Linked DNA regions of Homo sapiens: all the other regions are linked to region 3. Evidence: promoter capture Hi-C in 16 types of primary human blood cells and fetal thymus (Javierre and others, 2016). All regions are on one chromosome and are shown on one strand. Each heading gives the region's core, a stretch centred on a gene start or on the middle of the fragment in contact. The rest is flanking DNA. Distances are from core to core; before and after follow the strand shown. Region 1 holds the start of LOC124902381 (a long non-coding RNA gene). Region 2 overlaps FRMD4A (FERM domain containing 4A). Region 3 holds the start of RPP38 (ribonuclease P/MRP subunit p38). Region 4 overlaps FAM107B (family with sequence similarity 107 member B). Region 5 overlaps FRMD4A (FERM domain containing 4A). Region 6 has its middle 77 kb from the start of MIR1265. Region 7 overlaps FAM107B (family with sequence similarity 107 member B).

The links. The method cuts DNA at HindIII sites, captures the fragments that hold promoters and counts their contacts. A CHiCAGO score of 5 or more calls a contact.
Region 1: a fragment that was not itself captured here is called in contact with the fragment with the promoter of RPP38 in region 3 in 8 of 17 cell types (neutrophils, monocytes, megakaryocytes and 5 more); the score reaches 9.6 in neutrophils.
Region 2: a fragment that was not itself captured here is called in contact with the fragment with the promoter of RPP38 in region 3 in 5 of 17 cell types (total B cells, total CD4 T cells, naive B cells and 2 more); the score reaches 10.3 in total B cells.
Region 4: a fragment that was not itself captured here is called in contact with the fragment with the promoter of RPP38 in region 3 in 1 of 17 cell types (neutrophils); the score reaches 5.6 in neutrophils.
Region 5: a fragment that was not itself captured here is called in contact with the fragment with the promoter of RPP38 in region 3 in 1 of 17 cell types (total B cells); the score reaches 6.0 in total B cells.
Region 6: a contact is called between a fragment that was not itself captured here and the fragment with the promoter of RPP38 in region 3, in 2 of 17 cell types (neutrophils and monocytes). The highest score is 6.5, in neutrophils.
Region 7: a fragment that was not itself captured here is called in contact with the fragment with the promoter of RPP38 in region 3 in 1 of 17 cell types (neutrophils); the score reaches 6.5 in neutrophils.

What each region holds. Positions count from the first base shown.
Region 1 is chr10:14,531,145-14,533,863 of GRCh38, reverse strand. The region is part of intron 2 of FAM107B (family with sequence similarity 107 member B); the gene reads left to right. It overlaps LOC124902381 (a long non-coding RNA gene), which reads right to left and starts at 988. Exons shown (of 3, transcript XR_007062063.1): 1 at 915-988; 2 at 396-578. The HindIII fragment of the contact is 5,949 bases long and covers 1-2,719 here.
Region 2 is chr10:14,184,134-14,186,867 of GRCh38, reverse strand. All of the region lies in intron 2 of FRMD4A (FERM domain containing 4A), which reads left to right. It overlaps LOC124902378 (a long non-coding RNA gene), which reads right to left. Exons shown (of 2, transcript XR_007062060.1): 2 at 406-2,038. Among named protein-coding and RNA genes, the nearest start is that of FRMD4A-AS3, 110 kb to the right of the region's middle. RefSeq lists an enhancer at 1,255-1,304 and a silencer at 1,585-1,644. The HindIII fragment of the contact is 1,806 bases long and covers 351-2,156 here.
Region 3 is chr10:15,095,579-15,098,636 of GRCh38, reverse strand. RPP38 (ribonuclease P/MRP subunit p38) reads right to left here and starts at 1,282. Exons shown (of 3, transcript NM_183005.5): 1 at 871-1,282. RPP38-DT (RPP38 divergent transcript) reads left to right here and starts at 1,318. Exons shown (of 2, transcript NR_160789.1): 1 at 1,318-1,550; 2 at 1,772-3,058. RefSeq lists enhancers at 575-714, 775-864, 1,166-1,737 and a silencer at 1,005-1,364. The HindIII fragment of the contact is 10,027 bases long and covers 1-3,058 here.
Region 4 is chr10:14,567,640-14,570,339 of GRCh38, reverse strand. The region is part of intron 2 of FAM107B (family with sequence similarity 107 member B); the gene reads left to right. Among named protein-coding and RNA genes, the nearest start is that of MIR1265, 130 kb to the right of the region's middle. The HindIII fragment of the contact is 2,251 bases long and covers 308-2,558 here.
Region 5 is chr10:14,209,340-14,212,161 of GRCh38, reverse strand. The region is part of intron 2 of FRMD4A (FERM domain containing 4A); the gene reads left to right. Among named protein-coding and RNA genes, the nearest start is that of FRMD4A, 120 kb to the left of the region's middle. The HindIII fragment of the contact is 1,220 bases long and covers 849-2,068 here.
Region 6 is chr10:14,511,845-14,514,889 of GRCh38, reverse strand. No RefSeq gene overlaps it. Among named protein-coding and RNA genes, the nearest start is that of MIR1265, 77 kb to the right of the region's middle. The HindIII fragment of the contact is 1,525 bases long and covers 1,031-2,555 here.
Region 7 is chr10:14,548,737-14,551,663 of GRCh38, reverse strand. All of the region lies in intron 2 of FAM107B (family with sequence similarity 107 member B), which reads left to right. Among named protein-coding and RNA genes, the nearest start is that of MIR1265, 110 kb to the right of the region's middle. The HindIII fragment of the contact is 5,215 bases long and covers 1-2,927 here.

The DNA of each region.
Region 1 (2,719 bases), core at 14-2,513, 560 kb after region 3:
CTGGTCCTATGTGAGAAGAAAGATTTCCAAGCAACTAAATCTAAAGAGAAGTCAGAAAAACATCCCAAGCTAGGGCCTGTTTCCTAGATTCAGAACTAAAGTCATTTCATTCTGTGCACTGGAAGCTCAACCTCCCTCCTGGCAACAAGGCCCAAGTCATGTTTGCACCTCAACACTGACGTCCAGGAAAGGCTGAGTGGGCATCTTATGCTGTCTCTAGTTGAGGGGGAAGTGGGAGTGCGGGACAGAGGATGAGGGGACGGAAAGCGGAGGGCAGGCAAAGCCTGAGACTGCAGAGGGCCAGTCAGTCAGGTAAACGAGAGCGAGTCAGTCAGGTAAAGGAGAGCGAGTCACCCAGGCTTGAGCGCTGGCTGCACTTGCCCTCTCAATGTCACCTCTTTCATGTCGATCAGACGTCTCAGACTCGACACGTCCTAGATCCACTTGCTCTTTCAGCCTCCCGTCATGGCAACTTGAGCCTTCTGGTTGCTCAGGCCGGAAACCTCCAAGTCATCCTTGATTCCTCAGTGCTTTTCACGCCTCGTGTCCAGTCCTTCAGGAAGTCCCAGAGACTTTACCTTTAAAATACATCTTGAATCAGGCTCTCCGCCTACCTATGCTGCTGCTGCGTGAGTCTAAAGCATCTCTCACCTGGATGACCTTTGCATCTGCCGCCCTGCCTGCCTGCAGCCCGTTCTAAACCTGGGAGCTGGAGTAATCTTTTAACTCATGAGTCAGATACCGTCATTACTCTGCTCAGAACCTGGAAATGACTCCCCATGGCCCTCAGGGTGAAGACCAGAATGCCAGCACTGGTGTTCAAGTTCCCACGCTCTATATCCTCACCATCCCTCCCTCCCCTGCAGCCAGCCTCGCGCTTTGCCATTCCTCATCCCCCCCAGGCACCCTCCTACCCTGTGGCCTTTGCATGCGCTCTTCTCGCTGCTGATCACGGCCCGCTCTTCTGTCACATTCCCTCCAGCTCCTCCCCAAATGTAATAACGAGGTCAAGGTCAGAGGCAGTTGTCTGTTTGGGTTTGGCATCGTGGAGATTATCTATGGTGAAGGGCAGAAATACGGAGCCTTTTATGGAAGTGTGTAGCCTTCTTGGTCTATGATTAACTAGAAGGAAACTGCAGTTGATTTTTCAGACACTTGTGGCTGAGCAGAGGTGTATGTAGTGCATTTAGGATTTTGCCGAGGAGCACGTTTTTCCATGGGACAGTGTGTTGATATCAGGCTGGCTGTGATGGGTTCCCTGAGTCACCCTCTGCGAGGTTTGTAATTCTCAATTCAGTTCAGGTTGCAGGCATTCTTGTTGTTAAAAGAGCAATGCAACTAGTGTCTGAGGAATGTTTGGTGTAATTTATTATATATGCCTTACTGTTTGATAATTTTGAGCCTAATCATGGAGTGATATTTAAGATATTTAAACAAATGTTGCAGCTACATTATTTTTCAGTTGACTTAGCCTTTGGATTTTCATTCTCTTTATTTTCACATTAACTTTGTAAAGATGTTGCTTTGGTTTGGTGGACAGAACATAACACGGGGAGGTGCTGGGGGCAGGGTCATACTTTTCAGCAGGGCAGCTAGGAGGTCAGGCCTCTCTGAGAAGGTGACATTTGAGGAAAGGCCTGGAAGGATACAAGCAGGATGAAGCCCACAAGGTGCTTAAGGAAGGAGACAGTGAGCAGTGTCACAGGCCAGCGAGCACCGTGCTGAGAACTAGAAGCCTTTTCCACTGGCACAGGGTCAGCATTGATATGTTTGTAGCATAGATTGATTTGCTGAGGCTGAAGGATTAGCAGTAAAGGACCTGGGTCCGGTGCCTATTGACCAACAAGTGAAACAACAAGCACTAAAACTTAGAGAAATCGCAGTTAGATTTATTTGGAGCCAAGTTTGAGGACTTACTTAAGCCTGAGAACACAGACTCAGTGTAGACTGAGAATGGGTTCCAAAGTAAGTTATGTGAGGCGCAATATATATACGTTTCATTCCCTTTCCTTTTCTATTTTGTTTTGTTTGAGACAGAGTCTCTCTCTGTTTCCCAGGCTGAGTGCAATGGTGCGATCTCGGCTCACTGCAACCTCTTGCCTCCTGGCTTCAAGCGATTCTCCTGCCTCAGCCTCCTAAGTAGCTGGGACTACGCCACCACGCCTGGCTATTTTTTGTATTTTTAGTAGAGACAGGGTTTCATCATATTGGCCAGGCTGGTCTCAAACCCCTGGCCTCAAGTGATCTAGCCACCTTAGCCTCCCAAAGTGCTGGGGTTACATATATGAGCCACTGTGCCCAGCCTCTTTTTTTTTTTTTTTTTTCTTTTCTTTTAGAGATATGAGGTCTTGCTCTTGCTCTGTCACCCAGGCTGGAGTGCGGTGGTGCAATCATAGCCCACTGCAGCCTCTCAACTCTTGGGCTCAAGTGATTCTCCCACCTCAGCCTCCTGAGTAGCTGAGACTATAGGCATGTACCACTATGCCCAGGGCATTTCCAATGTTTTTTAAACATATGGGGTCTTGCTATGTTGCCCAGGCTGGTCTTGAGCTCCTGGCCTCAGTGATCCTCCCACAACAGCCTCCCAAAGTGCTGGGATTACAGGCATGAGCCACCTTGCTCGGCCTTGTATTTTGTAACAGGGGAATACATGTGGCACAGCGGTGGGCGAAGCAGGCAGTGAAGCAGCGGTTTCAGTCCTGTGATTGTGATTGGTGGT
Region 2 (2,734 bases), core at 4-2,503, 910 kb after region 3:
GATTATAGGCATGAACCACCATACTGGTCAGAGAAGGGTATTCCTTAAGGGTACAACTTGTGTCCAAGGCCACCCTGAACAGTCAAAGCTATGATCTTCTTTGCCAGTCTCCTGGGGATCCTGGGGCTGAGCGCAACATCTGCATCCTCAGAGGCTGATAACCCTCCCTTCTCTCATGAGGATATGAAGATAGGTAAGAAGGAAGAGGATGCATGGTCTAGTCCTTGGGTCACCTGAGACTGAACAGGAGAGAAGCAGGGTCCCTAGACCATCATGTTTGTCATGGAGCCAAAGGGTCACTGCCCAGTGTGCCAAGACTATGACACCAGGTTTGTGAGAAAAGCAAAGCTTTTATTGTTCCCAGGGAGACAGGAGTCCAGCTCAGATCTGTCTCCCTCTGCTGGCTTCAAGGGAGTAGTTTTATTAGAAGAGGTTTACGGGGTGGATTCTGGGATTAGTGGGTGATCGGTGGAAGGAAAGGGGAAACCTAGAAAGGTCTTGGCATGAGCAGTTATCTCTTCATGCCTCCTCATGGGTCGCATGTGCAAATTCAGGGGGCGTTAGTACGAAACGTGTGGTGGTAGTTCAGACTGTGACATCACAGGCTGGTTCTGTACAGGCTCTGGTTGGTCATATTGATTCCAACCAATTGTAGCCTGTTTTGTTATCCCATAAGAGGAGGGAGTTTTAGCATTTTGGCCAGTCTTTTTTTTTTTTTCTTTTTCTTTTTATCTGCGATTTTGTAAGCTCAATAAATTCTGTTAGTCATTGGTGTCTTTGTCTCTTTGGACGATGGTTTCCAGTGTCTCCTTTACGGGGGTAGGTCCCAGCCCGCACTTCTGCCCACTGCTGTGCTCCATCACCATGGACCCTGCACAGTTGATCCTCTGGCCTTGTGCTTTTCCTCTCACCTGATGCACATCATTCTGCTCCAGCTGCCATCTTTGCAGTTCCTGCCCAGTCTCTCTCTGCCCTGTTGCTGTTACCACTTTATCTCACTCTAACTCTATGGGAAACCTGGCCATGGCTGTCTCCACTGGGCCCTGCCCTGTCTACCCTATTCCGCCCAGGACTAGTCTGGATTGTACGTATCTGTTGCTTTGGCTGGTACTAGCCTGGTCTACTGCTGTTGCCATCCCTTCTCTCTAGAACTACTGAAGGTGCCACTGTTGAGCTGCTGCTATCCTCTCTTCTGCTCATCTGCACAGCTAACAACCGCCCCTGCAGCTCTCTGACCATGAAGTATATATCCCCTTTCTGTCTCTCTACCTGTTTCTCTTTCTTACAAGACGAGATTGAACCTTTAAATAGTCTTGCTTTATGTTTCAAGTTTCCATAGTTCTACAACAAACCTCCAAAAAATACTTGAAGTTAGAAAAATTACAAAATGTTGTAATGTTTTTTGTACTAATTTCTGCCACGACATCCTCATCTGTACTAGCTCTCCTTACGCTTAGGGTGGTAGATTTTTTCATGCACATTCTACAGATTTTAGGGTTTAGACACACAGATCTCTCACTATGGATATCTAGAACTAAATGAAAAAATGAAAGACTCTATCTCTACATCCTTCTGCTGGGATCTCTCAGGAAGCAAGAGTCTTATGCAAATAGTTTCCGGGCTTCTTGAAATAGACATGCAAATTAGAACCCACAGTGGCTTTGGGCTACACCACATTATACACATAACAGGAAAAGGAGGATGAAAGGTTCTTTCTGAGCTATATGCCTGGGAAAACCTGTTCAGACACAGACATTGGCAAAAGATGATCAGCATATGGAGGGGCCTTGGGTTGATTTAACAAAGAAAAAGTATCAAGGCCCAGGGACCTAGATTCAAAGCATTCCTTTCTCCTGGGTTTTGTTTTCTCTCATTCCGCGCTCTCTGATTGTGTAACTGTCTAAACAAATTCAGACATGAAAGGGAAACACCCTACACGACTTTAGCGGTCGCGTTTGTTTGTGCTCCATCGCAGTACCCACGCAGTTGTATCCGGGCAGGCCATGCACGAAGATGTGGTAAGGATATCTATCATTTCCTTAAAAAATAAAAAATAAATAAATAAGAAAATGCGCCTTTATTCTCCAAACTTCTCTTCTTTCATATCTGACTTATAGCCCATGAGCCACACATTTGGGCTACTTTGAAAGAAAGCTTAGGGGGATTGATTTCACTGAGAGGTAGAAACAGAAGCCATGCTCTGCCCGGCCTGGACGTGTGCTTCTGGGAACGTTCAGAGGCTCCTCAGGAGACGGGCACGGTGCCTTGTATAAAGCACTTCAGCCTTTGTTGAGCAAACAAATTCCCTTAAATTGGAACAACAACAAAAAATACCTTTTTTAACATTGGAGAAGTAGTAATTTCTCCATTTTTTTTAACATAATAGAATAGAAAGTTGGCTAAGAGAAGCTAGATAAATAACTGAGATTACTCAACAAGCTGGGTATAGAAAATGGGTTCAGTTGCAGTGGCTCACGCCTGTAATCCATCCCAGCACTTTGGGTCAGGAGTTCGAGACCAGCCTGGCCAACATGGTGAAACCCCATCTCTACTAAAAAAAAAAAAAAAATTAACCGGTTGTGGTGGTATGCACCTGTAATCCCAGCAACTCTGGAGGCTGAGGCAGGAGAATCGCTTGAACCCAGGAGGCAGAGTTTGCAGTGAGCCGAGATGGCACCACCGCGCTCCAGCCTGGGCAACAGAGAGTGAGACTCTCTCAAAAAAAAAAAAAAAA
Region 3 (3,058 bases), core at 33-2,532:
GGACTACAGGCGTGAGCCACCGCGCCGGGCCGGACCTCTTAACCTACATCTAAACAATGCCTACCAAAGGAAGTATGGAGTAAAGAAAGGTATCTCAGTATTAAAAGAAATAAGTTGGCTGGCGAGGTGGCTCACGCCTGTAATCCCAGCACTTTGGGAAGCCCAGGCGGGCGGATCACTTGAGGTCAGTAGATCGAGACTAGCCTGACCAACGTGGTGACCCGTCTCTACTAAAAATACGAAAATTAGCCGGGCGTGGTGGCAGGCGCCTGTAGTCCCAGCTACTCGGGAGGCTGAGGCAGGAGAATCGCTTGAACCCGGCAGGCGGAGGTTGCAGTGAGCCGGAATCGCGCCACTGCACTCCAGCCTGGGCGACTGCTATGTCTCAAAAAAAAAAAAAAAAAAAAAAACACGTTCAAATAAGTTCAATGTGGCTGGGGCAGAGATGCTAGAGAAAGCGGTGAGAAACTAGGAAAGGTGGGTAAGGACCAGATAATGAAGACCTTTGCAAGCGTTCCAGTGTGAAGCAACTTTAACATCTAAAGCAGAGGTGTCGTGATTAGAAAGACGTTATAGATCTTTGTGGATCTGGGCAAAGGAAGAGTCCCCGAGCAGCAAAGACGCTCCTGGAGTCGTCCAGGTTAGAAATGACGGTGGCCTGCACTAGAGACGCCGCAGAAAGGACTGGAGAAAAATACATGTTAGTCGGAAAAGAAGGTAGAATCTCCCGACACAGTAGTGACCAGCTGGAAGTAAAGTTGAGAACGGTATTGGTGGTGACTCCCGGTTTCTGGATCCCGCCGGTAGCCGAGGGGCGACGGCCGACCCAAAGCTCACCTCCCCACTGCACGCCGCCCCTGGATCGAGTACCTTGGTGCTTTACTATTTAGCACACGGAAGTGTTGTTCTGTTGTCCGTGTCTCCTTGGAGACCGTGGAGAACAGAAGGGCCGGCGGGGGTTTTCGCTTTGTACTCCTGGTGCCCAGCCGGCGCTGCAATCCAGCAGAGGAGCCGGACTAGAAACGCGGAAGCTCTGGGTGCACGCGCCCGGCCCGGGACTGGGCGGCCCAACCGGGAGGGCGGCGGGTCCTGCGGCCACGCAACAGGCGTTGGGGAAGCAGCAGAGACCCTGCGTGCGCGCGGGCTTCGGCCTCCAGATTCCGCAGAGTCCCGGGCCCGATCCCCCCGGGGCTGGCCTCCTGCCCTACGTGGGCCCCGCGCGCCCACCTGGAACTCACGATGGCGAATCCGTGGTCACCTGAAGGCAACAGCACCGGCGCCCAGTGCGCCTGCGCCGCGCGTGCGCAGAGCCCTCGCCTCCCGGCCTCGCCTCGCAGACGCGACGGGCCGGGGAGGAAGCGCTCGGAGCAGTGCAGGTTTCGTTATCCTGTGTTAGGTCACTCCGGAGAGGGGAAAGCGGCCCACAGCGTCGCGCGACCCGGAAACGACACAACGAGGCCCAATCTTTTAGACTCGAGTTTAGGCCCCGGGGTGGAGTCTCCGGACCGGGTCCCCCCACCCCCGCTACAGGGGCAGTGCGCAGGCGCGAGGTATGTATCGCGAGACCATGCGGTTGCCCGGGTAACCAGACGCTCAGGACTTGGACCGTCCAGTTGTTCGGAGGCCAGCCTATAGCCAATGGTATCCCGAGGGCTCGCTCTCTCCGGGCGTTTGTGCTCCCCTCTCTCTTCTAACCCAGTTTCTACCTTTCAGTGCTTTGGAATCTTAGCCCTCTGTCTCTATTCGCTTTTCTGTATTTGCCTTGCCTCAGGGACGCACAACCCCAGCCCCTGTCCCAGTGAGCCCGTCGCCATGGAATCCCTGCAGACTCCCCAGCACCGCGAAAATCAAGATAAAAGGGAGAAGGAGTATGGGGTAAAACACATGCCTATGGGCAATAATGCAGGGAATCTTGAGCCCGAAAAGAGAAAGGCAGTAAGAGTTGCCTTGAGTTCAGCAACAGCTGCACAGAATATCCCGTCCAGTGTCCACTGTGGCTGCTCCAAGCAATGGAGACTCAGGCTACCATCGGAGTCGCTGCAAAGTCGGGGACAAGTGATGAAGCGGCCGAATAACATTTTAAAGCTCAGGAATCTGGATCTGTTGATCTACCCTTGGCCAGAACTTAGAAGACGGCAGGTTGCTTCTGACCTAATGAGCCTCCTCCTTCTCCCCGCTTTTTCCGGCCTTACTTGGGCCCCCTTCCTTTTCCTCTTTACGTATCTGCCTCCTTTTCTCAATCTCCTCACTGTTGGTTTTGTATCCTATTTTCTGGTATAGTTTCTGTGATTTCTTTCTTTTATTTATTATTATTATTGTTGTTGAGACAGAGTTTTGCCCTTGTTGCCCAGGCTGGAGTGCAATGGCGCGAACCTGGCTCACTCCAGCCAGCGCCTCACAGGTTCAGGTGATTCTCCTGCCTCAGCCTCCGGAGTAGCTGGGGTTACAGGCACGGGCCACCAGCCCAGCTAATTTTTGTATTTTTAGTACAGACGGTGTTTCACCATGTTAGTCAGGCTGGTCTCGAACTCCTGACCTCAGGTGATCCGCCCACCTCGGCCTTCCAAAGTGCTGGGATTACAGGCATGAGCTACTGTGCCCAGCCTCTATGATTTCAATTTTCATGTTTAAGTACCTATGTAGAACCTAACTGTCCATAAGTAAACACAACAAAAAAAAGATTTGGCTTTTGGTCAAAGATCATTGGAGGTTACACAGGGTAAAGTGCAGTATGATTTTTATCACAATTAGAAAGATTAAAAAGAGATGACAGTGAGTTTGTGAGAACAGGTTTGTGTTTCATAAAATGAATTGTGTGAGTTAGCTATGATGAACTGCAAGCAGCTTGCATTTCCAAAGACAAATAGAGACACAGGAATCTAATTAAAATGCTAAAGTAATGGGAAGGAGACATCCATACGTTTTTGTCCCCCTAAGGTTCCAGATTTATAGTTTGAGCATCATCTCGGCTTACATTTTCTCTGTGGAAAACATCAGCCATTACATTACTTGGCTCTGGGTTGAAATCCTAACTTCATCAACTGAAGATCTTATGACC
Region 4 (2,700 bases), core at 184-2,683, 530 kb after region 3:
ACCCTGCCCTGCTGGGCCTTGGTGTACACAGATATTGGGTAAAAATCTAATGTTGACCTAGATAAACATCACACACACACACACACACACACACACACACACACACCCACCACATTTTTTTGGTAGGTACGTTTTCAATGTCGTTTCATTTCAGAAAAAATATGGGCTACCCTTATATTAACATAGGACACTCAATTACCTTGTATGCATTCACATTTATTTACATACAGTTTTTTTCTGTAGCAATGATAAATGCAATCCTAAGTAATATTGGCTTAATATTTGGATGCTTTAATTTATAAAAGCTTTCCCTTTCTATGGCTCATGACAGTGATTTATATATTTATTGGTAGCTCTGTTTTAGAAAAGCGACTGAGTTGCTGGGTGTTTCTGCCCTAGTTTCTGGTTTCCGGGAACCTCTGGGCTCGCCCAGCCTGCCTGGTTGGCTGTTGGCTGAGGCTGGCCAAGGTTCTTGAAACTGTTGACACCTGTGAAGCTCTCTGTCCATCTCAGTAGGCGCGAGAGTCCCAGATCTTGTTTGGGGAAGCACGGCCTTGCATTGAGGAGGGAGAAGGGAAGAAAGAACTTGATTATTTCAGAGAAGAGACAGAGGAACCTTGGTTTCCCTCAAGGTCTTAAGTCTGGAGTACCTGTCACTTCTGCTGACCTGTGAGCTGACTGTGTGAGGGCTCCACCCCTCCAGTCCTGGCCTATTTCCATCTTTCCCAAAACTTGAGAGGAAGGTTACACTGAACAGAAGTACCTGTGTTGTTCTTGAGTTGAGGAATTTTTTTCTGCTATATTTTTTTCTAAATGATGCTAAAGTTTTTGCTGGAACAATATGTTGAGTCTGTCTAGCTTCCGGAGGACTTAGATCACCACATGTTATGATCTTAACGTAACACATGTGTGCATGCATGCATGCACACACACACACATATGTGCACAATGCAAACTGCAGCTCACCACAACACAACATGTACCCTCCCCTTCCTTTCATGGGGATAGGATAACTCGAATCTTCCTTCTGACTTTTATTGTCAAGAAATATTTTCTACACTCTCTATTTCTATATCAGTTGTTGGCAGTTATATCTGCAAACCCATGAGGGTTTTCTGGATTCAGATAACACACATCATTTGTGGAATATGAGGAATTTAAGGAGACTCGAGGGTGGGCAAAGATTTGAATAAACATCAGAACGAGGATGATTATTTGTGAAACAGACCTTTGAGAATTGAGTTCCAAGAGCAACAGACCTTTCGATGAGAACCAAAAAATTCATTCTGTAGCTCAGAAAATTCCTAACTTCATTTCTTCAGGATAAACATGTCATTATACCAAATAGCAATCTCAGTGTGTTAAAATCTACCTATGCACTGTGTCCCACAGACATCGTCAGATGCCAGCTCTCCTGGTGTTGCCATTTATTATGTTGCCGACGATTCTGGGATTTAGGATCCCACCTTCATGCCCTGTCTCTCCCCCTCCTTCCAGGTTCCTGGGACTGCTCTTTGCCTCCCCCTTCCACCCCACCCTCTCTCCCTTCCCCTCCAGCCTCTTCCACCAGGTGCTGTGCTCCTGCCTTGGGATCAGCCAGCTCCCATGCTGCCTCCTTCCCCAGTATCTTCACCTCCTGGTCTAACCCAGAGATCAGCCACCCTTCTCCTACCCGAGTATCTTCACCTCCTGGTCTAACCCAGAGATCAGCCACCCTCCTCCTACCTGAGTATCTTCACCTCCTGGTCTAACCCTGAGATCATCAGCCAGCCTCCTCTTACCTGAGTATCTTCACCTCCTGGTCTAACCCTGAGATCATCAGCCAGCCTCCTCTTACCTGAGTATCTTCACCTCCTGGTCTAACCCTGGGATCATCAGCCAGCCTCCTCTTACCTGAGTATCTTCACCTCCTCGTCTAACCCTGGGATCATCAGCCAGCCTTCTCCTCCAGTATCTTCACCTCCTGGTCTAACCCTGGGATCATCAGCCAGCCTCCTCCTCCCCCAGTATCTTCACCTCCTGGTCTAACCGAGAGCCACTCTCCGAGTTCAGTGCTGCCTTGGCTCCCTTGGGAATGGGAGTGCACCTTCTCCCACCCTGTATGTGCCTTGGGATCTGGAGGCAGGGCTTAGGTTCCTGCCCTCATGGCCACTTTTGGGTCATGACCCTTCCCCTCGCTGCTGCTTTGAGCCTTGTCTCAGTCGTATTCTGTCCTCTACCCTCAGTGCTAGCATTTCGTGGTCGTAGCTCCTCATTCGTTCCTTGAAAGTTTTGGCCCCTGGCTCACAGTCATCTGCTGCAGGGGTCAGTATTTGTCAAAGCTCACCGGGGACTCCATGGCAGCCGGAGCTGAGTGACCAGCAGCCTGGTTTGCCTGAGACTGGAGTGGCAGCAGGAGCTTTTTGGGATGGGGATGTTCAGTCTGAGGACTAAGGAGTTTCACAGGACGCAGGACTTTCAGTGCTCAAACTAGGAGGAGGAGGTTACCCTAAAAAGACACTGTTAATACCAGGAACCGCTTCTGAGCTGAAATCCAGAGATCCTACTCACCAGAAGCTTCTGTCCTTCAGCTCAGCTGACAGATTACAATAAGAACATCAGATTTTTCCCATTCCAGGTCCCTTTCCAACCCCTCTGCTCCTGCTGGACTTTGCCTCTGCTTTTGAATTCCAACATTTCAGCGATGCGCTTGTCAACGCA
Region 5 (2,822 bases), core at 209-2,708, 890 kb after region 3:
GGGGTGTGGTGCTGGGTAGAAGGGCACAGCTCACCTCCTCTCCCTGGGAGAAGAGATGCAATTTGGAGCTACCCTGGGACACTTTTTCTGCAGCCCCAACAAAGACTTACTGTTGGAAGGATCACAGGGGATGTCTGTCTGTACCCCAGGCATCATCTCAGAGCTCTGTGCTGCTTCATTACACCACACAGGTCTCCATCACAGAGAGAAACACCAGGCAGCCACTTCCCCAGTGCTGAGGCATCACTGAGAGATAATCAGGCTTTTAAGCCCTTCAAACTTAAATCTCTCTCATGGCAGCCCCTCTGCAACTTCCATTAGGAAATGGGTTTATAATGTGCTATAATGCATGACAGTTTTCACACTAATTTGAATCATTCTTGTGATTCTTACTTAACTGTTAGTTGCCAGCCTCAAACGCTTCGAGGACTTTGGAACGTTGAAATACATCACGATCCAGCCTGGCCTGTGGTAGACACACAATTATCATTTGCTCTGATGGGGATAGCAGGCTAAGCTGGAGGAGGACCCAAGATAAGTAGAATACAATCTTTGACCCTAAAGATCTTATCATGGCAGGAGAAAGGAGGATGGGATTTAAGAGAAATAGGAACTGGCTCTTGACAGATAGCACGCATGATACGGTTTGATTCCTATAGCAGTTCTGTAGAAATACCTGAACCTCTGTCTTCTGGTCCATGCAATAGTGATGCGTGCCTTAAGGAGCTATTTTGGAACACAGTAATTCAAAGCTTAGGCCCTCAAACCAGACCCACGTGACTTCAAACCCAGAATCTGCCTCTCACTGAATCAGGAACACTGAGCAAGCAGCCTCACTTTTCCAAGCTTTGGTTTTCTCCTACCTGTTCATTGGGGATTATGACAGTACCTGCCACATAGGGTTTTTGAGAGGATTAAGTGATTGACATGCTTAGAATAGAGCTAATACAGTGTAAGCTCTCAAAAAAATTAGCTAATAATGTTGTTTATATTCTCAAACATTATACATTAATTTATTTGACTAGTACTGTTATACCAGGGAAGTGAGATGGGGGGATAGGAACCTAGTTCTTCTAAACTAAAAATTTCATTTTCTTTCCCCCATAAGATAAAACTTCCTAAAAATTGAATATCTGGCTGAGCACGGTGGCTCACACCTGTAATCCCAGCACTTTGGGAAGCCAAGGCAGGCAGATCAGAAGGTCAGGATTTCGAGACCAGCCTGGTCAAGACGGTGAAACACCATCTCTACTAAAAATACAAAAAGTTAGCAGGACATGGTGGCATGCACCTGTAGTCCCAGCTACTTGGTAGGCTGAGGCAGAAGAATCACATGAACCCTGGAGACAGAGGTTGCAGTGAGCCAAGACTGTGTCACTGCACTCCAGCCTGGGTGACAGAGCAAGACTCCATCTCAAAAACAAACAAAGAAACAAACAACAAACAAAGACGGAAATCCACAGTCAAGGCCCACATGATACAGTGCGGCTATTGGAGATGCTTACGACTGACTCCTTAGGGGCCAGGACCCTGACTTGTCCATCTGTGGTCTTTAGCACCTACTCCTGGCTGGCACATATTAGGTGCTCAGTAAATGATACTGAAGGTCCATGCTGTGTGGTTGAGTTTGAGCAAATATAAGAAGGCAGGGTATTGCAGGGTATGTGTTCAGGGACCTCATTCCAGGACCTCTGGAATTCAGGGGTTATATTAGTTTGTTGCATGTTAGTCTGTTTGGGCTGCTGTAACAAAACACCATAAACTAAGTAGCTTATAAACAACAGGAATGTCTCCCAGTTCTGGGGCTGGGAAGTCCAAGACCAAGGCGCCAGCAGATTTGGTGCCTGGGTCTCACTTTCTGGTTCATAGATGGTACCTTGTCACTCCATCCTCACATGGTGAAATGGGCAAAAGACCTCCCTTGGGCCCATTTTACAAGAGGACTAATCACTTCCCAAAGGCCTTATCTCCTAATACCATCACTTTGGGAGTTAGGATTTCAATGGAATAATTTTGGGGAGATATAATCATTCAGGCTATAGCAGGCTGGCACAAAGTATCACAAGCTTGGTGGCTTCAAACAACAGAAATTTCTTCTCTCACTTTTCTGAAGTCCAGAAGTATGAAATTGAGATGCCTGCAGGGTTGGCTCCTCCTGGAATCCTTCCTTCTCTCTTTGTCACTCTCCTTGCCTTGTGGCCTCATCACTCCAATCTCTGCTTCCATCTTCACATGGCTTCCTCCTCTGTGTGTCTCTCCTGAGCCTTTTCTTTTGGGACAGGGTCTCACTCTGTCACCCAGGTTGGAGGGCAGTGGCATGATCACAGCTCACTGCAGCCACGACCTCCTGGGTTCAAGTGGTCCTCTCACCTCAGTCTCCTGGGATTAGCTGGGACTGCAGGCATGCACCACCATGTCCAGCTATTTTTTTTTTTTTTTTTTTGAGACAGTCTCGCTCTGTCGCCCAGGCTGGAGTGCAATGGCACAATCTCAGCTCACTGCAAGCTCCGCCTCCTGGGTTCACACCATTCTCCTGCCTCAGCCTCCCGAGTAATTGGGACTATAGGTGCCCACCACCATGCCCGGCTAATTTTTTGTATTTTTAGTAGAGACGGGGTTTCACCATGTTAGCCAGGATGGTCTTGATCTCCTGACCTCAAAGTGCTGGGATTACAGGCGTGAGCCACCATGCCCACCACTTTCCTTATGAGGACTCTTGTCATTGGATTTATGGCCCACCCTAATCCAAGATGATCACATCTTGAGGTGCTGGATTTAACTACATGTACAGATTTCTTTTTCCAAATATCAGCACTTTCACA
Region 6 (3,045 bases), core at 544-3,043, 580 kb after region 3:
GTTTTCCCAGCACCATTTATTAAATAGGGAATCCTTTCCCCATTTCTTGTTTATGTCAGGTTTGTCAAAGATCAGATAGTTGTAGATATGCGGCGTTATTTCTGAGGGCTCTGTTCTGTTCCATTGATCTATCTATATGTCTGTTTTGGTACAAGTACCATGCTGTTTTGGTTACTGTAGCCTTGTAGTATAGTTTGAAGTCAGGTAGTGTGATGCCTCCAGCTTTGTTCTTTTGGCTTAGGATTGACTTGGTGATGCGGGCTCTTTTTTGGTTCCATATGAACTTTAAAGTAGTTTTTTCCAGTTCTGTGAAGAAAGTCATTGGTAGCTTGATGGGGATGGCATTGAATCTATAAATTACCTTGGGCAGTATGGCCATTTTCATGATATTGATTCTTCCTACCCATGAGCATGGAATGTTCTTTCATTTGTTTGTATCCTCTTTTATTTCCTTGAGCAGTGGTTTGTAGTTCTCCTTGAAGAGGTCCTTCACATCCCTTGTAAGTTGGATTCCTAGGTATTTTATTCTCTTTGAAGCAATTGTGAATGGGAGTTCACTCATGATTTGGCTCTCTGTTTGTCTGTTGTTGGTGTATAAGAATGCTTGTGATTTTTGTACATTGATTTTTGTATCCTGAGACTTTGCTGAAGTTGCTTATCAGCTTAAGGAGATTTTGGGCTGAGACAATGGGGTTTTCTATATATATAATCATGTCGTCTGCAAACAGGGACAATTTGACTTCCAGTTTTCCTAATCGAATACCCTTTATTTCCTTCTCCTGCCTAATTGCCCTGGCCAGAACTTCCAACACTGTGTTGAATAGGAGTGGTGAGAGAGGGCATCCCAATCAATAGAAAAAGAGGGAATCCTCCCTAACTCATTTTATGAGGCCAGCATCATCCTGATACCAAAGCTGGGCAGAGACACAACCAAAAAAGAGAATTTTAGACCAATATCCTTGATGAACATTGATGCAAAAATCCTCAATAAAATACTGGCAAACCGAATCCAGCAGCACATCAAAAAGCTTATCCACCATGATGAAGTGGGCTTCATCCCTGGGATGCAAGGCTGGTTCAATATACGCAAATCAATAAATGTAATCCAGCATATAAACAGAACCAAAGACAAAAACCACATGATTATCGCAATAGATGCAGAAAAGGCCTTTGACAAAATTCAACAACCCTTCATGCTAAAAACTCTCAATAAATTAGGTATTGATGGGACGTATTTCAAAATAATAAGAGCTATCTGTGACAAACCCACAGCCAATATCATACTGAATGGGCAAAAACTGGAAGCATTCCCTTTGAAAACTGGCATATTTATTTTTATATTCTCCTACATATTCTGTTATACTGTCCTTTCTGGGCTTGCAGTAATTTTACCAAGACTAAAAGGAAAGAAATCCCCCCTCAGGCTAACTGAAGGAGCAAGATCTGGGTTCTTGACTGATTCTTAGGATGGAGGGCCTGGCAGCACAGTCCACGCTGCTGCAGTCATGGGCCATGGGCCCTGGACAAAGTCCTTCGTTAAAATTAATTCTTCCTTGCTTTGTCATGGAATTTTTAATATCTTGCCATTTCTTCTTTCATTTAGGAAACTTGGTGTCCTTCCCAGAAGTGGATGCTTTCATTTTGCATAGTCAGCCTGACCTACTCATTGTCTTGCCTTTTTATGATCTGTTGATCTTGTCCGTTAGTGTAATCGAAAACTTACATATGCCTGTGAATATCTCATGTAACTAGGATCATTTTGAGATTTTGTCTAGTAGAACCATCAAGTCTGTGTGGTGAACGCTTGTCCCTGAGATATTTGGCTATTTATTATCTTTGGACATAACTGCTGGATCCTCTTTTATTTGTGATCACATATGATCAAGTAGACTCCTTTATTTGTATTTATTATATGTGACCACTGATGACGATTTTATTTTGTTTTTTTGAGACAGAGTCTCAGAATTCTGTTATCCAGGCTGGAGTGCAGTGACGCGATCTTGGCTCACTGCAGCCTTGACCTCCCAGGCTCAAGCAATCCTTCCACCTCAGCCTCCCAAATAACTGGGACTACAGGCATGCACCACCATGTCTGGCTCATTTTTTTTTTATTTTTTTTTGTAGAGACAGGGTCTCACTATGTTACAGCTCAGGCTGGTCTTGAACTCCTGGCCTCAAGTGATCCTCCTTCCTCAGCCTCCCAAAATGCTGGGATGACAGGTATGTGCAACTGCGCCTGGCTTCTTTTGTCTGTTTGTACTATGTTTTTCTAGTTTATCTTATGATTTTGTTTATTCCTATAAGGATAGCTAGAAACAAACACATGTCTATGGTTTATGAAAATGTATATTCTTCATACAACATATAAAATGTCCACACATATATGAATAGTCCCTTAGCTATATCCTATAATCATCTTAATTTTGTATTACAACTCCTTTTTCTCTTGGAGTCTCTATGAATGTGTGTCCCTTTATAGACTCACCTTATAATTTTCATCTCCTTTTTTGGATGCTCAGAATATTACAGCTTGACTGGTGGAAGTCCTTCAAGCTTATTCTTTTGTTTTTGTGGGGTTTTGGTTTTTTTAAAAGTAAAATATTGCTTTTGACAGTTATGGCAGCATCCTTACTTTGTTACAACAATAGGATGTTTGGGGCCATCCTAATTTTTTTTTTTTTTTTTTTTTCTGACGCAAGACATAGGACTGTGTGCCTTTCAAGAAGTCCTGGTTTCTTTTTTGATGAAGAGTAGAAACAGAGATGATCTGGCACTAGAGGTGCACAAGAGAGTTGCTAGTGGACAAAAGTGTCCTTGCACCTGTAGTAATGACAGAGCTAAAGAATGTGAACTCATCCTTGTTTTTCCATTTCAACCCTTTATGTGGTTCTACCTTATTTTTCTTATGAGATCTTATTAAACCAGAAATATTTCCATTACACTTAGAAAGATTAGTTGCGATATTTTCTTTACAGATAAGAGTTATGAAAGGGAATTTACCAGACCAGATACCGAAACACACCTTCAAGCAACAGTAATTTAACT
Region 7 (2,927 bases), core at 280-2,779, 550 kb after region 3:
AATAAGGTTTATGTCTTCAATTCTAAAGATTCATAGATGAAATTAGGAAAATAGTGTCCTTAAAAAAAAAAAAAGGAAAATAGTGTCCTTCCTAATTAACATGTCCCATGTACCACTGTGTTTATGTACTTTCTACTATAAACTGAATTTTAAAATCTTGAATAAAGTATACTCACAAATAATTGGAATCTTACTCAGTTTGACATTTGTAAGATTATCGGCCGGGTGAGGTGGCGCACACCTGTAATCCCAGCACTTTGGGAGACCAAGGCGGGCAGATCACCTGAGGTCAGGAGTTTAAGACCAGCCTGGCCAACATGGTGAAACCCCGTCTCTACTGAAAATACAAAAATTAGGCGGGCATGGTGGGCGCCTGTAGTCCCAGCTACTCAGGAGGCTGAGGCAGGAGAATCGCTTAAAACTGGGAGGCAGAGATTGCAGTGAGCCGAACTTCATCTCAAAAAACAAAACAAAACAAAACAAAATTATAAACCAAAATGTAGAGAATGACTTTTAGATTTTGTTCTTTCAACTCTGAGTTGCCTCGGAAAACTTTTAAAAGAATTGTCTCATTTTTCATGGCCTTTGTGCTACATTTTTAAGTACTTAATCCATTTAAGGAGGTAAAACTATCCTACTGTAATTAAGCTGTTCAGATTAATTTTTTTAAGGCATAAAGGAAGTAGTTAGCTATGATGATCTGTATTTTCTTGTTACATAATTATTTTACAATTGTTCCTCTCGAAGTGATGAGTGATTTCCTCTATAACCAGCTGTCAGTAAAAGACAAGTTTTCATTATGAGTATGTTAACGTGTCCTTTGTCCTTGTCCTTTTCATTTAGTTAAAGTAACCAGTAGCTCCTATTTATGTGAACTTGAAAAAGGTACTGTTAAAAAAAGTTCTGACCTTTGTGATAAGAGCTGTGAGTGAAGTCAAAGCTGATAGGATGCTGGGTTCTTGGGTAATGAATCCTGTTACAACAAAAGAAATGAAAGCATGACAACTTGGGTAACTCAGGGAAAGAAGCCGATTTCTCCATTTCATGTGGACTTCGTATCAGGTGGAGCATTTACTTAAGGGGTGCCACGCCACCTTTTTCTGTTCTTTCCCTGAGTCATACTGCTGCTGTAGGATTTAAATCCCTCGATGGTGTGTTGAGACTTTGGGCAAACATCACTTGACCATAGAGTTATTAGGTAGTAACAGACTTGATTGCAATGCAATGAATTGCCAGAGTGAGTAACTTGATGGAGGATATGTATTGGTTCTTGGGGCAAAAGTCCTCATACCTGACAGCCGAGGACTAGAGCTGCAGACTCAGTGGTAGGTGGTGGTTGTTCTCACAGACTTGTGTAGTGGGGAAGGAGTGACTATTAAGGCTTTGTTTTGAGAGAGACAGACAGAGAATTGACTTGAGGATGGACGCTTACAAAGTAGACATGAGATTACTGCAGTAGTCCTAAATGATCCTTAAAAGCATCCTGTTGGAGTCAAGATAAATCGGATCACTTCACTTCTATAGGATCTGGATTATGACTGATGTCTCTGTTCCTCATCACTAAAATGAAGTGGTATTTCTCGAAGGCCTCTTTTAACTCCAGAATTAGATGAATTTTTGAAATGTTGAATATTTTCTAAAACAGCCTCCTTTCCATTCCCGTAAGAAAAACGGTTGTTATGCTCTATAGACATGTGGCACCCGATGTCTGGGTATTTACCAGTGAGCTCTTTGTTTTTAGGCTTTCATCATTCTGTGTTCCTTGTTTGCCAAGTAGGATGCTCACTTGCAGGATGCGGTCATTTTCCCATTCAGCTTTTAAGTTTTCCTGTGTCTGTTACTGTCCATACAGATAGTGAAAGGCTTCAGCTGAGTCCTGTGGGGAGATCACTTCGAGTTTCTGGGTTTGGGTGTGCTGTGATGGGGTGACTGAGATCACTGTCGGTGGTGAATGAACGGTCTCATGGAGCTGGGGTTGCCCTGCTTTTGTTTACTCGTGACTCTACAGGGCAGCCTGTGGGAAAATGGCAAGGCTTGGCGTCCTGGAACCACAAGCCTCCAGAGGGAGTTGAATTAATGTGCAGAGTTGAATCAGGGAAAGTTCAGAGGCAGTGTAGTTTACTCCCTTATTCCAGTACCCACACTCACTACAAATGTGTTTACATTTAAACTTTTGCCAAAGCCCCCTTAGTTTAAAAGGGAGGCTTCACATAAATGGAAAAGCTGAGGCCAAAAGGCCTAAACTTCTCTCATCTTTATTGCTTATTGCAGCTTTTATTATAGATGCTGCGAGTACTCAGCACTTCTAAGAAACTCCGATTGCTCTTGTTTCCCTTTCAGCTTGGAGCTGGGATCCAGAGTAGTTAACTGAGGGGCCTCGCAAGCCCCTTGTCAGGAGGATGGCCTGCCTTTGAAGGCAGTTGACTCTTGTATGTGTCTTAGTCTCTTTAGGCTGCCATAACAGATGCCACAGACTGGGTGGCTTAAACAATAGATGTTGGTTTCCTCACACTTGTGGAGGCTAGAAGTCCTAGATCAAGGTGCCAGCAGATTGGGTTCCTGGCTTGCAGACAGCCGTCTTCTCATTGTGTCCTCACATGGCATTGAGGCTGGAGAGTACAGGGAGAGAGATTGAGAAAGAAGGAGCTCTGGTCTCTTTTCCTCTTCTTATAAGGACACTGATCCCATCATGTGGGCTGCAGCCTCATGACCTCATCTAAACCTAATTACCTTTCAAAGGTCCCACCTCCAAATACTGTCACTTTGGGGGTTAGGGCTTCAACATAGGAATTTTGGGGGGACTCAGCATTCAGTCGGTGTGTGTGTGCGTGTGTGTGCGTGTGCATGTGTACTTGTAGAGGAGGGTTGATTGTCCACCTGACAGCCGTTGCCATCCCCTCTTCCCTGCTGGATGCCAATTTGCATTT